Linked DNA regions of Homo sapiens: regions 1 and 3 are each linked to region 2. Evidence: promoter capture Hi-C in 16 types of primary human blood cells and fetal thymus (Javierre and others, 2016). All regions are on one chromosome and are shown on one strand. The core of a region is centred on a gene start or on the middle of the fragment in contact, and the rest is flanking DNA. Distances in the headings are between cores, read along the strand shown. Region 1 holds the start of MIR155HG (MIR155 host gene). Region 2 holds the start of HEMK2 (HemK methyltransferase 2, ETF1 glutamine and histone H4 lysine). Region 3 overlaps MRPL39 (mitochondrial ribosomal protein L39).

The links. The method cuts DNA at HindIII sites, captures the fragments that hold promoters and counts their contacts. A CHiCAGO score of 5 or more calls a contact.
Region 1: a contact is called between the fragment with the promoter of MIR155HG here and the fragment with the promoter of HEMK2 in region 2, in 2 of 17 cell types (naive CD8 T cells and non-activated CD4 T cells). The highest score is 5.8, in naive CD8 T cells.
Region 3: a fragment that was not itself captured here is called in contact with the fragment with the promoter of HEMK2 in region 2 in 1 of 17 cell types (total B cells); the score reaches 5.3 in total B cells.

What each region holds. Positions count from the first base shown.
Region 1 is chr21:25,560,414-25,564,932 of GRCh38, reverse strand. MIR155HG (MIR155 host gene) reads right to left here and starts at 2,788. Exons shown (of 3, transcript NR_001458.3): 1 at 2,676-2,788. RefSeq lists enhancers at 1-61, 3,204-3,253 and silencers at 2,444-2,723, 2,734-2,823. The HindIII fragment of the contact is 13,141 bases long and covers 1-4,519 here.
Region 2 is chr21:28,883,753-28,887,945 of GRCh38, reverse strand. HEMK2 (HemK methyltransferase 2, ETF1 glutamine and histone H4 lysine) reads left to right here and starts at 2,579. Exons shown (of 6, transcript NM_013240.6): 1 at 2,579-2,734. The coding sequence starts at 2,601. It also overlaps the pseudogene HSPD1P7. RefSeq lists enhancers at 2,162-2,720, 2,666-2,725, 2,721-3,280. The HindIII fragment of the contact is 10,284 bases long and covers 2,204-4,193 here.
Region 3 is chr21:25,587,875-25,592,746 of GRCh38, reverse strand. MRPL39 (mitochondrial ribosomal protein L39) reads left to right here. Exons shown (of 10, transcript NM_017446.4): 9 at 3,865-3,912. Among named protein-coding and RNA genes, the nearest start is that of LINC00515, 7.1 kb to the right of the region's middle. The HindIII fragment of the contact is 1,999 bases long and covers 251-2,249 here.

The sequences.
Region 1 (4,519 bases), core at 1,539-4,038, 3.3 Mb after region 2:
GAATTTCATCAGTGTAAGGGATTTTAGAAATGGTTCAGTCCCTGCCACCCATCAACCACCCATCTTAGAGATGAGCAAAATGAGGCACAGAAATCTGCAGAGTTGGTCCTAGAAACAAACCATGGTTCTCAGGCCGGTGCTCCTTCCCCAGTATTAGACTTCTGCAGAGTGGCAGCCTGATATCAAAACAATAAGGCTGTTAAAATCAATAGCTTCAGCTAAGCAATAGCCAATGACTATCAAAAATGGAGACACCAGCTAGTTAAGGGCACTAGCTGGTGCCCAGTCCAAGTGATAGAGGTGCCCAGTCCAAGTGAAGGGCAAGAGTCTACATACCACTTTCCTCTATTCAAGCTATTTATGCCTACTAGGTTTAGAATACTGATTATGAAAGTGGACCCCCGAAGAGGGTCATGGCTGAGATTCAAGGAAGTCTCTAGCCTGCTAACATCGAATGCAAATTGGTGTGTGAGGATACACATTAACAAAAATTTTCTGGGAAGAGCATATAAAATTTCCATTAGATTCTCAAGGAGGTAGGAATAAAGGATTTTAGTAACTATTACTCTAAAATGAAAGAATTCCTTTAAATTGAATGGCAGATCTTAGTCATGACCTGAAAAGCTGATAAAAAAAAACTTTTCAAAAGTTAAAACCTAGGGCTTTTTGGGGTAGATTTTTTGATTTATAGAGGACTGGTAAGATGAGGTATTTAAAGATGAGGGTTACAAATTTTCCATGTTGGCATATGGAAAGTAAAGAATGGCAAAATTTGTAGCACATTCTAATTAGTTCAAATATCTATGTTACCAAAATTGAAATGATATCAAATTGCACAGCAATGTCCTGATGGCCTTTCCTCTAACTTTCTGGGTTTGTAAGGGTAGGGTTGTGCCTATCCTGCTCACCTTTGTCTCTCCAGTGTCTAGCATAGCGTCCAGCACAGGCAGACTATGATGCCTGTTTTTTTTTTGTTGTTGTTTTTTTTTTTTTTTTTTTGGTAAAGACCAGTGAATTACACTTTTTACACATGACTAGGTTAAAACAAAAGTAGACATTTGTGCAAACACCACTGTTCTCCCTTGAAGTGGTTGTAGGTCTCAGACAGTGCTAATTTTTCTCTTTCTTAATGTGTGTGGTTAGGAAGCTGGGTCCTGTGGCCAGAGTGAGCTGACCCACTATGTGAGGAAACTTACTTATCACAGCCTAATAAGGAGTAGTCCTTGCAGCAGAAGTAATTACTAAATGTGCTTTGGTCATTTGACAGAAATCAGGGAGGCAGCAAGGAGTCATGGAAATGAGCCCAAACTGAGAGTCAAAACCCTGTGGTCTGCCGACACCCCCATCCCACATCCGTACCTAAAAGCAGGCTGTGCACTAGGGACCTAGTGACCTTACTAGAAAAAACTCAAATTCTCTGAGCCACAAGTCCTCATGGGCAAAATGTAGATACCACCACCTAACCCTGCCAATTTCCTATCATTGTGACTATCAAATTAAACCACAGGCAGGAAGTTGCCTTGAAAACTTTTTATAGTGTATATTACTGTTCACATAGATAAGCAATTAACTTTACATATACCCGTTTTTAAAAGATCAGTCCTGTGATTAAAAGTCTGGCTGCCCTAATTCACTTCGATTATACATTAGGTTAAAGCCATATAAAAGAGGCACTACGTCTTCGGAGAGATGAATGGATATTACAAGCAGTAATTTTGGCTTTGGAATATACACATAATGTCCACTTGACCTCATCTATTTGACACAAAATGTAAACTAAATTATGAGCATCATTAGATACCTTGGCCTTTTCAAATCACACAGGGTCCTAGATCTGCTGTGTGATGCTGGAAAAGTAACTTCACTTCTGTGGGCCTCAGCTCCTTAATTTTTAACATACTTTGGATTCTTATATCTTTGTCAGCTGTCAACTTCAGTGTTTTCAGGTTAAATTCTATCCATAGTCATCCCAATATACCTGCTTTAGATGATACAAACTTCAAAAGATCCGGCTCTCCCTCGTAAAACGTGGAGGACAGACATCAAGGGGGTTTTGTGAGTAAAGAAAGGCAACCGCTCGGCAAAAACGCACCCTGGCACAACAGGAGCGAATAAATACAGACGCTGATTGAGCGTTTGCTCCATCTTCACTTCTGTTAAATGAAGACATTGATATCTAAAATGCTATGAGTCTAACTTTGTAAAATTAAAATAGATTTGTAGTTATTTTTCAAAATGAAATCGAAAAGATACAAGTTTTGAAGGCAGTCTCTTTTTCCACCCTGCCCCTCTAGTGTGTTTTACACACTTCTCTGGCCACTCCAACAGGGAAGCTGGTCCAGGGCCATTATACAGGTACGTCCCCAACCATCCAAGGAAACTTTGCAAAGAAGCTCAAGTATTAGGTTTCGAACACCCCTCCTTCCCCCTGCCTCTGCCCGCGGGAATCCATCCAGCGCAATCTCTGGTCCCGGGCGAGGCGACACCACTGAGTCCCCAGGGGGCACCCGCAGGCGCGCGCGGGACCAGGCCGGGCTCCACGGCCACGTGCGCGCTGCCCCCGCCTTGCCTCGCCAGTTAACCCGGCGGTGACCCTCGCACCGAAGTCCCCCGGCGTCCCTGCCACGTTCAAGAGAGGAAAGGCGGGCGGGAGCGCGAGACTGAAGTCGGCGTACCTGCAGTGCCAGGAGCGTCTCCTTGGTTCCCCGCGCTTGCTCTGCGGGCGGCTCGGGGCTCCGCTATCCGCTCCCTTCCCGAGGCTGCAGGCGGCGCTGGGCCCGGGCTCGGCCGCGCACAGGAAGCCCGCGCCTGCGAACGTGCGACCCTTTTATAACTCACTTGTGACTCATAACCGACCAGGCGCCTTTTCTGCAACCCCCCCCCCCTTCTCCCCCCTCCTGCCTGTTCTTGGAACCTACAGCTTGAAAAACTTTTTTCTTTTTAAAGGAAAAGTCGAAAAAGCCCAGCGCCCGGGTAGTTGGTGTTTTCCCCTTTCCCTTTCTCGTGGGTCATTGCGTGTGTGTATTTTTTTTCTCTCAACACACGCCGTGTACTTTCCTGCACCGCGCCGCAAGGCTTGGGCTCCAACCTTTGTTCTTAAAGAAAAGGAAACGCCTTCAAATGACGGCCCAGACGTCGCCCGAACTTTCAGTCGGCTGGAGGGGGAAGTGGCGACTTCTTGCAACTGGGTGGCAGGAGTGTCTCTACTCTCTCCTTGCAGGGAGCCCGAGAGGAGCAAGTGGGAGGTTTTTCCTCCTGGACCGAATCAGCTGGAGACCAGCAGGTCCCTAAGAGAGGAAGAAATGGTCTTCAGGCGATCCTGGATTTCATCCCTACCTCATCACCCTTCAAGAGCCCGCGTTTGGTTTGGAATACGTAACTGGGCTTTGAGAACGTTTGTACTGTGTCTGGTACCCGCATTTATACTCGGGATGTCAAGATATAGGACTTAAAACTTCAAAAATTTTGACCTCAACAACATTCTCCCCCTGCCCTCCACTCCCATCTCCAGGACATATTCCTGGAGCATATGGGACTTCGGTCGTTTTAATTTTTGGTTTTGTCGCTTCTCTCTTTTCTCCCGGACCCTGCCACAAGGGGAACATTTTCCTGGAGCAGCCATTTGATTTTGGGGGATGGAAAGGAACAAATAGATCTAAAGCCTGGCAAGTTTATCCTACAAGCCTAGTCGAGTAACTCATTCATGGGTCTCAGTTCAATAAACGTTTAGACTTGAAGAAGAATAAGGAAATATGGGGAAGAGAAGGAGGACAGGAATAGATCTAGCCTCATCAACATGTGACTGGGGCCTTTTTGTAAGAAAGACGGGGCCACTGCTGGATTGCATTGCAAGTATCCAGTACTTGGACCTCCCTGTCAAGGGCACAAGACATTTTAGAATAGTTTGTATTAAACTGATGCCAGTTACATGTCAGAATACATGTCAGAGCTGGAAATCCCATAGTACTTAATTTACAGATGGCTCAGGTTGGTTAAGGAACTTGGGAGCATTTTAAAACCCTCTATTCTTAAGATACATGCTTTTTCTCTTATAATTCAAACAAGAATAATCATGATGATAACAACTAACACTTATAAAGCATTTACCATGTGCCAGATCCTGTCCTAACACTCCTTATATGCATTAACTCTTTCAGTCCTCACTATGATCATATGAGGGAGGAGCATTATAATCTCTATTTCCAGATGAGGAAACTGAGCACAGAGAGATTAAACATGTTACCTTAGATCCTAGTAAGTAGTCAAGCTGAGATTCAAACTCAGTTCCAACCCTGGAGGGCTGGCTCCGTAGTCCAGTCTCCCTGCTTTCCAGATCCATGTGACGTTGAGGAGCTGGGGAAGTTGTGCAGTGGGGCATGTGGCAAGGATGCATGGTCCCCACCCAGGTGGGGCACGTCCCTCTGCTGGTTACAGATGCCTACAATGCCTTTCTGAATTTCCCATTTCTCATTCTAGGTTGAACTATAAGAAATTGCCCATAGGCAATTCTAGGGTGACC
Region 2 (4,193 bases), core at 1,330-3,829:
ATCAAAGATGATGCTATGCTCTTAAAAGGAAAAGGTGACAAGGCTCAAATTTAAAAACGTATTCAAGAAATCATTGAGCAGTTGGATGTCACAACTAGTGAATATGAAAAGGAAAAACTGAATGAACAGCTGGCAAAACTTTCAGATGGAGTAGCTGTGCTGAAGGTTAGTGGGACAAGTCACGTTGAAGTGAATGAAAAGAAAAACAGAGTTACAGATGCCCTTAATGCTACAAGAGCTGCTGTTGAAGAAGGCATTGTTCTGGGAGGGGGTTGTACCCTACTTCGATGAATTGGTGCCTTGGACTCATTGACTCCAGCTAATGAAGATCAAAAAATTGGTACAGAAACTATTAAGAAAACACTCAAAATTCCTGCAATGACTATTGCTAAAAATGCGGGTGTTGAAGGATCTTTGATAGTCCAGAAAATTATGCAGTTCCTGAGAAGCTGGTTGTGATGCCACGGTCAGATTTTGTGAATATGGTGGAAAAAAGGAATTATTGACAAAACAAAGGTTGTGAGAAGTGCTTTACTGGATGCTGCTGGGGTGGCCTGTTAACTACAGCAGAAGTTGTAGTCAAAGAAATTCCTAAAAAAAGAGAAGGACCCTGTATTGGGTGCAATGGGTGGAACGGGAGGTGTTATGGGAAATGGCAAGTTCTAATGATTAGAATAGCGTTTTACTTTAATTAATGAACTGTGGCAGGAAGCCCAAGGCAGTATTCCTCACCAATAACTTCAGAGAAGTCAGCTGGAGAAAACGACTGAAGAAAAGGCTAGCAGATGTTTAGGAAATCACTATAACAATCAGTTACTGGTTTCAAGTGACAAAATATATAATGTTTTACTGCTGTCACTGTCCATGCCTACAGATAATTTATTTTGTATTTTTGGATAAAAAGACATTTGTATATTCCTAATACTGGGTGCGAGAGCACCTATGGTTCCAGTTCCAGCTACTCAGGAGGCTGAGGGAGGAGGATCGCTTGAACCCAGGAGATCAAGTACAACTCTTTCTATATATATATATTTTTCATATTTTTACATAATAAAATTCTATATGGCAGTTAAGAGGAGTAACCTAACCATATATCAAAACATAAATCTCATATAATGTTGACTGAAAAAGAAATTTGAAAAATATGTCCAACCTAGTACCAGTTATGTAAATTTTAAAATACACCGTATGTTGCTTATAAAGATATGAATGTTTATAAACGTATAAATACAAGATCCATGTTTTTACATGGATTAGATGGACATACACTAAATCCATAAGAGCCTTGGAGAGAATGTTACACAATTAAACTGAAGGCAAATAGAGAAAGAACATCCATCTTATTTGTAATATTTTAGTTCTTGTATTTAAAAAATATTTTAAGGAAACATGAGAAAATACTGTCATTTCTGGGTTTAAAACTTGGGGTTTTGAAATTTGTAACCCAGCCGGGTGCGTTAAAGGCTCACACCTGTAATCTCAGCACTTTGAGAGCCCAAGGCGGGTGGATCACCTGAAGTCAGCAGTTTGAGACCAGCCTGGCCAACATGGGGAAAATCCGTCTCTACTAAAAATACAAAAATTAGGCAGCCGTGGCTGCAGGCGCCTGTAATCCCAGCTACTCCGGAGGCTGAGGCAGGAGAACCGCTTGAACCTGGGAGGCAGAGGTTGCAGTGAGCCTAGCTCGCGCCACTGCACTCCAGCCTGGGGGATACAGCGAGACTCTGTCTCCAAAAAAAAAAAATACATAAGTAGAAATAAAATAAAATAAAATTTGTACCTCAAATACTTTTCTGTATTTTTATTTCTCAAATTTAAAAAACGAGCTGTAAAAATGTTTCATTGCGAAACAAATTTCAGAAATTGACTCAAAAAGAATGCAAATACTTGAATAGTCTAATAACTTACAGATGTTCCAAAACATCAAAGATCCATTCACTCAAAAAGGCACCAAGCCCAGCCAGTTTTAAGGCTTTCTACCTAATGTTCCAGAAACAGTGTCCTAACTCACATAACGAGGGTAGCGTAATCTTGGTAAAAAAAAACGGAGCCAGATTATTAGCCTCCCCAATTCAGCAGTGTATTAAACCGCATCATCTTGCTTAAGGTTTATAAAAAGAGTGCATTCATGATTCATCAGGAAGGCAATTTATAAAGTACAGTAAAAAAACGAGGAAAGTCTTCATCTTTATAGCGTAAAGCTTAAAGTTCAGCTGACAAAAAAACAGTAAAATTTATTATGTATTTTTTCAAATCCTTGCAAACTAGGAATAAAACAGAATTTCCAAATATCATTAGAATGAAGAAAGAACATTCACCTTAGTCAAAAACAACTCAGAATGCCCACTATCAGGTTCTAGTTCACAGAATAAAATTTAAATGTTCCAAAGAAGAAAGCAAATGTCAATAGTCACGGATTATACAACTGTCTACTTAGCAATTTCAAGGAGAGCCACTGACAAATTTAGAATTAAGACCCAACAACAACACACTGGTCGCCCGGGACGCCAGCCCCACTCCTAGGCCTGCGCATGAGGGTGAGGGCATGCGCATGCGCATGCGCACGCCCTGCGCACGCGCATGGAACGCAGCGAAGGACTATGGCAGGGGAGAACTTCGCTACGCCGTTCCACGGGCACGTGGGCCGCGGCGCCTTCAGCGACGTGTACGAGCCCGCGGAGGACACGTTTCTGCTTTTGGACGCGCTGGAGGCAGCGGCTGCCGAACTGGCAGGGTGCGAGGAGGGGAGGGGCTCTGACGGGAAAGGGTTGCGGCTTTCTGAAGAAGTGCGGTGGAGGAGGGCCGGAACGGTGACTATCACCGCCCTGAGCCGGAGCAGGCGGGGTCCACTTGCAGATGATTGACAGCCAGGACGCCGTAATTGAGAATTTTCCTGTAGCTACAAGTAATGAGTGTGCCGGGGACGCATCTCCTTTGCCAGGGGGCTGCTCTGTCTCATGAGCTCCCTGACTGCTTACCATGCAAAGGCGTATCTTTTCCTGTCGCCTGTTAATCTGAAGAACACATGTCCCTGAGAGAAGCGATAGTATAACACGTTTGGAAACAAAATATTCCGGAAACATTGCTTATTAATATTTTTAAAGTATTACATATTAAAATTGCATGGTATTATTTGATTTACTCAGCACATAGAAAGCACCCTTAACAAACATGAAAGAAAGTTGTGTTACTGGAGTGGGGAAATATTTTTAAACCCACTGAATAGCATACTCTAGCACCAGCCAGTCCTCACATGTGGCTACAGAGCGCTTGAAATGTGGCTAGTGCTATTGAGGAACTGAATTTTTCATTTAATTGTTACCAAAAAAAAGTTACATGCAGCTAGCAGACAATAGTCTACCCTAGCACTTTATTTAAATGGATTTATTGAAGTGATCGCCATCAATTTTAAATTAATAGCAGAAGGAATGAATACTGACATTGTGATTTTTAAATGTAAGGAATTTGGGTTGTTAGATTTGTTTGAAGATAAGATGAACTGGGTTTTCTCAGGATGGAACAAACAGCTTTCAGGTTTCAAAGATCTATATTGTATTTATTTATCCCTCTTAAACTTGGTCATATTTCTCCAGTATAAAATGTCCCAGCTCTTATTAAACTAGTCTTTCATTGTAGATGATGGAACTTTTGGATCTACTGGAATATACAGTGGAACAGTACTGTTTTATAACTTGTCTTTTCTTCTCAAGATAGCCCAGAAAGATTTACAAGCACAAATTGCACTGCAAAGTATGCTGTAAAAGGAGCTGATTTTGTTATAAAGTCTTGGGTTATTTCTAGTTTGGAATTCTAATTATTTATGAGACCATGATAGTTATTTTCAAAGAGAAGCCACCTGGTGAGATTCTCAGACCTTACTACCACCTAATAAAGACTTGTCAGATGTGTAGACTGGTTCCAAAAGTTTAAAACCTCTGGAGCTTGTCACTGGGTAGTTGTTTTGGGAGTTCAGTGCTAAAAATTTCCCTAAATGCCATCAAGCTGATCTTTTTAATGGGGATGATTTATGCTTTTGATGCATGTATAACATTATAGAGGGCTGGCACTGTGGTTCGTGCCTATAGTCCTAACTACTTGGGAGGCTGAGGTGGGAGGATCACTTGAGCAAGCCCAGGAGTTAAAGGCAGCAGTGAGCTGTGATGGCACCACTGCACTCTAGCCTAGGTGACAGA
Region 3 (4,872 bases), core at 1-2,500, 3.3 Mb after region 2:
ATACCAGTTTGAAGAATATAAACTTTTAATTTTTCTTAAGTTATGTGACACTAATATTTTATAAACTCAGGTTTATGATTAAAAACAAAGTTGCCCAGGGTGTAAATATACAATTACAAAAGAAACATTAGTTGAAAAAATTAAATTGACATAGCATTTAAAAATTTCAAGTTAGCATAGGTGAGGGTACATTGACAGAGGGGGTATTAGAGTGCGTATTGGTAAGACTTCCTGGAATGCCTTTTAAGCTTAAATTTGGCATGCTCTTCCCTCTAATTTTAATGATCCATCATGACCCGAAGCCTGACATTTTCCACATTGCTCCCACCCCTTGCTAATCTTTTTATTTAAATTTTTGATTTTGAGATAATTGGGTTATAAGACATAGAGAGATCCCATGTACCTTTACTTGGTTTCCTCAATGGTAGCATCTTGCAGTACTAAAATACAGTATCACCACCAGGGTATGGACAGCGATACAATGAAGATACAGGACAATTCCTTCACTACGGGGATCCCTCATGTTGGCCTTTTATAGACACACGCATTTACAGCCACTTCCCTCTGTTGCCCCCATTACCCTGCCTGCTTACCCCTGCCAACTACTTATCTGTTTTCCTTTTCTATAATTTTGTCACTTCAAGAATATTGTATGAATGGGATCAAACGGTATGTAATTTTTTGGGATTGGCACTTTTCACTCAGTATAATTCTCTGGAGATTTCATCCGAGTACATTGAGTATATCAGTAGTTCATTCATTCTTATTGCTAAGTAGTATTACTTGGTCTGGATGTATCATGGTTTGTTTAACCATTCATCCATCAAAGGACATCTGAGTTATTTTCAGTCTTTGGCTATTACAAATAAAGCTGCTGTGACATTGTGTGCAGGTTTTTGTGAATATTTCTCTGGGATAAATACCCAGGAGTGCAATTGCTGGGTCATATGATAAGTGTATGTTTAGTTTTTTAAGAAACAACCAAAGTGTTCCAGAGTGACGGTACCATTTTACATTCCCACTGGCAATGTGTGAGTGATCAGTTTTTCCACATCCTCACTAGCATTTGATGCTGTCACTACTTTTTTTTTTGTTTTAGTCATTCTGATATGTTTGTAGTGATTTCTCATTGTAGTTTTAATTTGAATTTCTCTGTTGACCAATGGTATTGATCATTTTTTCATGTACTTATTTGCCATCTGTATATCTTCATTGGTGCAATGTCTGTTTATGTCTTTTGCTAGTGTTCTAATTAGATTGTTTTACTTTTTAACAGTTGAGTTTTGAGAGTTCTTTATATGTTGTAGATACTAGTTTTTTGTTAGATATGTAGTTTTCAGATTTCTCTCTTTTTCTGTCTGTACCTTGTGTTTGTATATGTGGCTTGTTTTCTCATTCTCTGAGCAGCCTTTTGCAGAGAAGTTTTTAATTTTGATGAAACTAGTTTATTAAAATTTGATAACATTTTTGTTTTTATAGATTATGTTTTTGGGGTTAATTCTAAGAACTCTTTGACCAGTCCTACATCCCAAAGATTTTCTCCTTTTTTTTTTCCCTCCTAAAAGTTTTAGAGTTTTACATTTGTTTAAATCTGTGGTCCATTTTGAGTTAATTTTTCTATGAGTGTGAGATTTAGGTTTAGGTTTTTTTTTTTTTTTTTTTTTTTTGTGGGCTATAGATGTCAGATTGCTCCAACACCATTCGTTGAAAAGGCCACTCTTCCTCCACTGAGTTACTTTTGCATCTTTGTTAAAAATTAGCTGAGCATATTTATGTAGGCCTATTTTTGGGTCCTCTATTCTGTTCCATTGATCACATATGTTTAGCTCTCTACCAGTACCACCCAGTCTTGATTACTGTAGCTCTAAATAGGCTGTGAAATCAGGTAGAGTAATTCCTCCCTTGTTACTGTTTTTTAATCAAAATTGTTTTAACTCTTCTAGTCTCTTTGAGTTTCCATTTAATGTTAGGATAATATTTTCAATGTCAACAGAGTCTTCCTGAGATTCTGATAAGTCCATTAGACCTGTATAGCAGTTTGGGGAGAATTGACATCTTTAATATGTTGAGGTTTCCAGTCTATGAACTTACTGTATCTTCTTATTTATTTATATCTTCTTTCATCCCTCTCATTTTGTAAAATTTAGCACACCTCTCCTATACATTTGACTTTGACTTTTCTCCACATACCTGCTTCCTTTCCTAGCCTTCCCAATTTCAGAAAATGGGATCATCCTTTAACTCAAGCTTGTCCAACTCACAGCCCATGGGCTGCATGCAGTCCAGGACGGCTTTGAATGAGACACAAATTTGTAAACTTTCTTAAAACATTATGAGGTTTTCTTGCGATTTTTTTTTTTTTTTAGCTCATTAGCTGTCATTAGCGTTAGTATATTTTATGTGTGGTCCAGGACAATTCTTCTTCCAGTGTGGCCCAGGGAAGCCAAAAGATTGGATACCCCTGGTTTCCTTAGTTGTTTAAGGTAATCCTTGATTCTCTTTTCCCCTCATAGCCATGCCCCAGCCCATCCATCCGCAAGTCCTTTCAACTTTTAACTCTGAAACATATTCTGAATCTATGCACCTTATAACATCTCATCTACTACTACTTCCCTTATCCAAGTTCCTCTTTGTTTTCACTCACCTTCCTTGCTTTCACTCTTGCCATCTACAGTGCATTTTCCACTTAGTAGCCAAAGTGATCTTTTTAATACACAATCTGTTATGTACTTCCTCTGCCCCAAACTTTCCAATGGCTTCCCTTGAACAAATCCCAACTCTTTACCCTGTCTCACAAAGCCCTGCATTATCTGGTCCCTGCCTGCTTCTCTGACTTTATCTAACACCACTCCTTTCCTCACTCACTATATTCCAGCCACAGCTTAAGGTCTCTGCACCAGCAGTTCATTCCGCCTGAGTCAGGCATGGTTTTCCCTTTAAACATACCAGTCAGCTCTTTCCCTGGAAGGGTTTGTATGTTGATATTTATTAATTTTACCTTTTATTATAGATTTTATGAGCTCATTCAGTGTGGAGTAGTCACTGGCCTGCCCATATGTCTTGTTACCACTTTCAGTTGACCTAATAAAATTGATGTGGTCATGATACACTTTGCACAGTTTTCTTTAATGCATTCTGATAATCCTCTGCTACAGGAGGTTGTTATGGACTAAGGAAATTGAGTTTAAATTTTACTATTGTCTTGGGAGGCTGAGGCAGGAGAATTGCTTGAACCTGGGAGGCGGAGGTTGCAGTGAGCTGAGATCGCACCACTGCACTCCAGCCTGGGCGACAGAGTGAAACTCCATTTCAAAAAAAAAAAAAATTTACTATTGTCTTTGTTAGGTTTTACTTATTCTTTAGGGTAACTTGATGAATCCTCTGCTTCTGCCATTTCAGTGTGAAGATGTCACAGTTGGTTTTTAATGACTGTCTTCTTGTGATTGCTTATGATTTGAAGAATGACTTCTAGAATGTTGAAACTGGCTGTTTAAGGATTGAACCACAGTCTATGGGAAAGTAGGGCAGATTTTTGCTTCCTATTAGAAGAAATGCTTTCTATGATGGAAATGATTAAGATGGGCAAAAGTGAAAGAAGGGCACGTTCAATCCTTAAGCGTTTTTTTCTTAAATGCTCACTGCAACCTCTGCCTCCCGGGTTCATGCGATTGAAGAAAGCAAAAAAGCAGCTATCCCCATGTAGCACCTTTTTTTGCTACTATGATCCACTTTTATAACCACTTATCTAAATTAGTACTGCCTAGCTTTTTATTTATTTTGTTCTAAAAGCTATATAAAGACTCTGTCCTTTTTACTTTGACATTACTGCTTCATTTAGTTCATCGCAAATCTTTTCTTTTCAAGGCACATTTTACAATATGGGATAAGCTATTGGAAAGATCTCGGAAAATGGTAAGTGTTTTTGACAGCTATTGAGTACTCTTCTATAAAGAAATTCATCAAAATTAACCAATAACAACCAAAGGGGGGAAAAATGAAAGAAACAAAGAGAAAGGAAAAAAGTAAGTTGTCTCAATAGTCAAAGCAGTGTTGTGATTGTTCACTAGTGTGTTGGTAAGGGTAAAGTTGTAACTTGGCAGTTCTCTTTTGATTTTATTTGTTAATATCGTGAAAATGATATTGTAGAACTTGAAGAGAAATAAGAATATTACTATGTAATAGTAATAGTTCTTAATAGTTGTAATGGTATCAGTTAGGTCTTAGGATTTATTTTGTAAACTTAATGAATATTTAGAGGATTAAGATTTGTCAGGTGTATTTTAAAGCCGCCTTTAGCCATTAACAGTAAATGTGCAAATATCCTAATGTCCTGAAAAACCAGATTTGAATGTTTGTGTTTTTGTAGTTTATTCTTTGTCATTAGCATTTAGACTTAATGAGTAGGAATGATAGTATTTCTTTTCTTTTTTTTTTTGAGACAGAGTCTTGTTCTGTCTCCCAGGCTGGAGTGCAGTGGCGCGATCTCAGCTCACTGCAACCTCCACCTCCCGGGCTCAAGCGATTCTCGTGCCTCAGCCTCCCAAGTAGCTGGGACTATGGGTGCCCACCACTACGTCCAACTAATTTTTTTGTATTTTTAGTAGAGACAGGGTTTTACCGTGTTAGCCAGGATGGTCTCGATCTCCTGACCTCGTGATCCACCCCCCTCAGCCTCCCAAGGTGCTGGGATTACAGGCGTGAGCCACCGCGCCCGGCCCGGGTGATTGTATTTCTTGACCACAACTATTCCTGTTTCCTATTTCATAGGCTAAGTGTGCCTCTTTTACTTAGGTTATCTGATAGCTGTCCTGTGTAATCTGTCCTCATTAGGACTTCCTCCTTATCCTAATTTCCCACAATGCCACAAACACT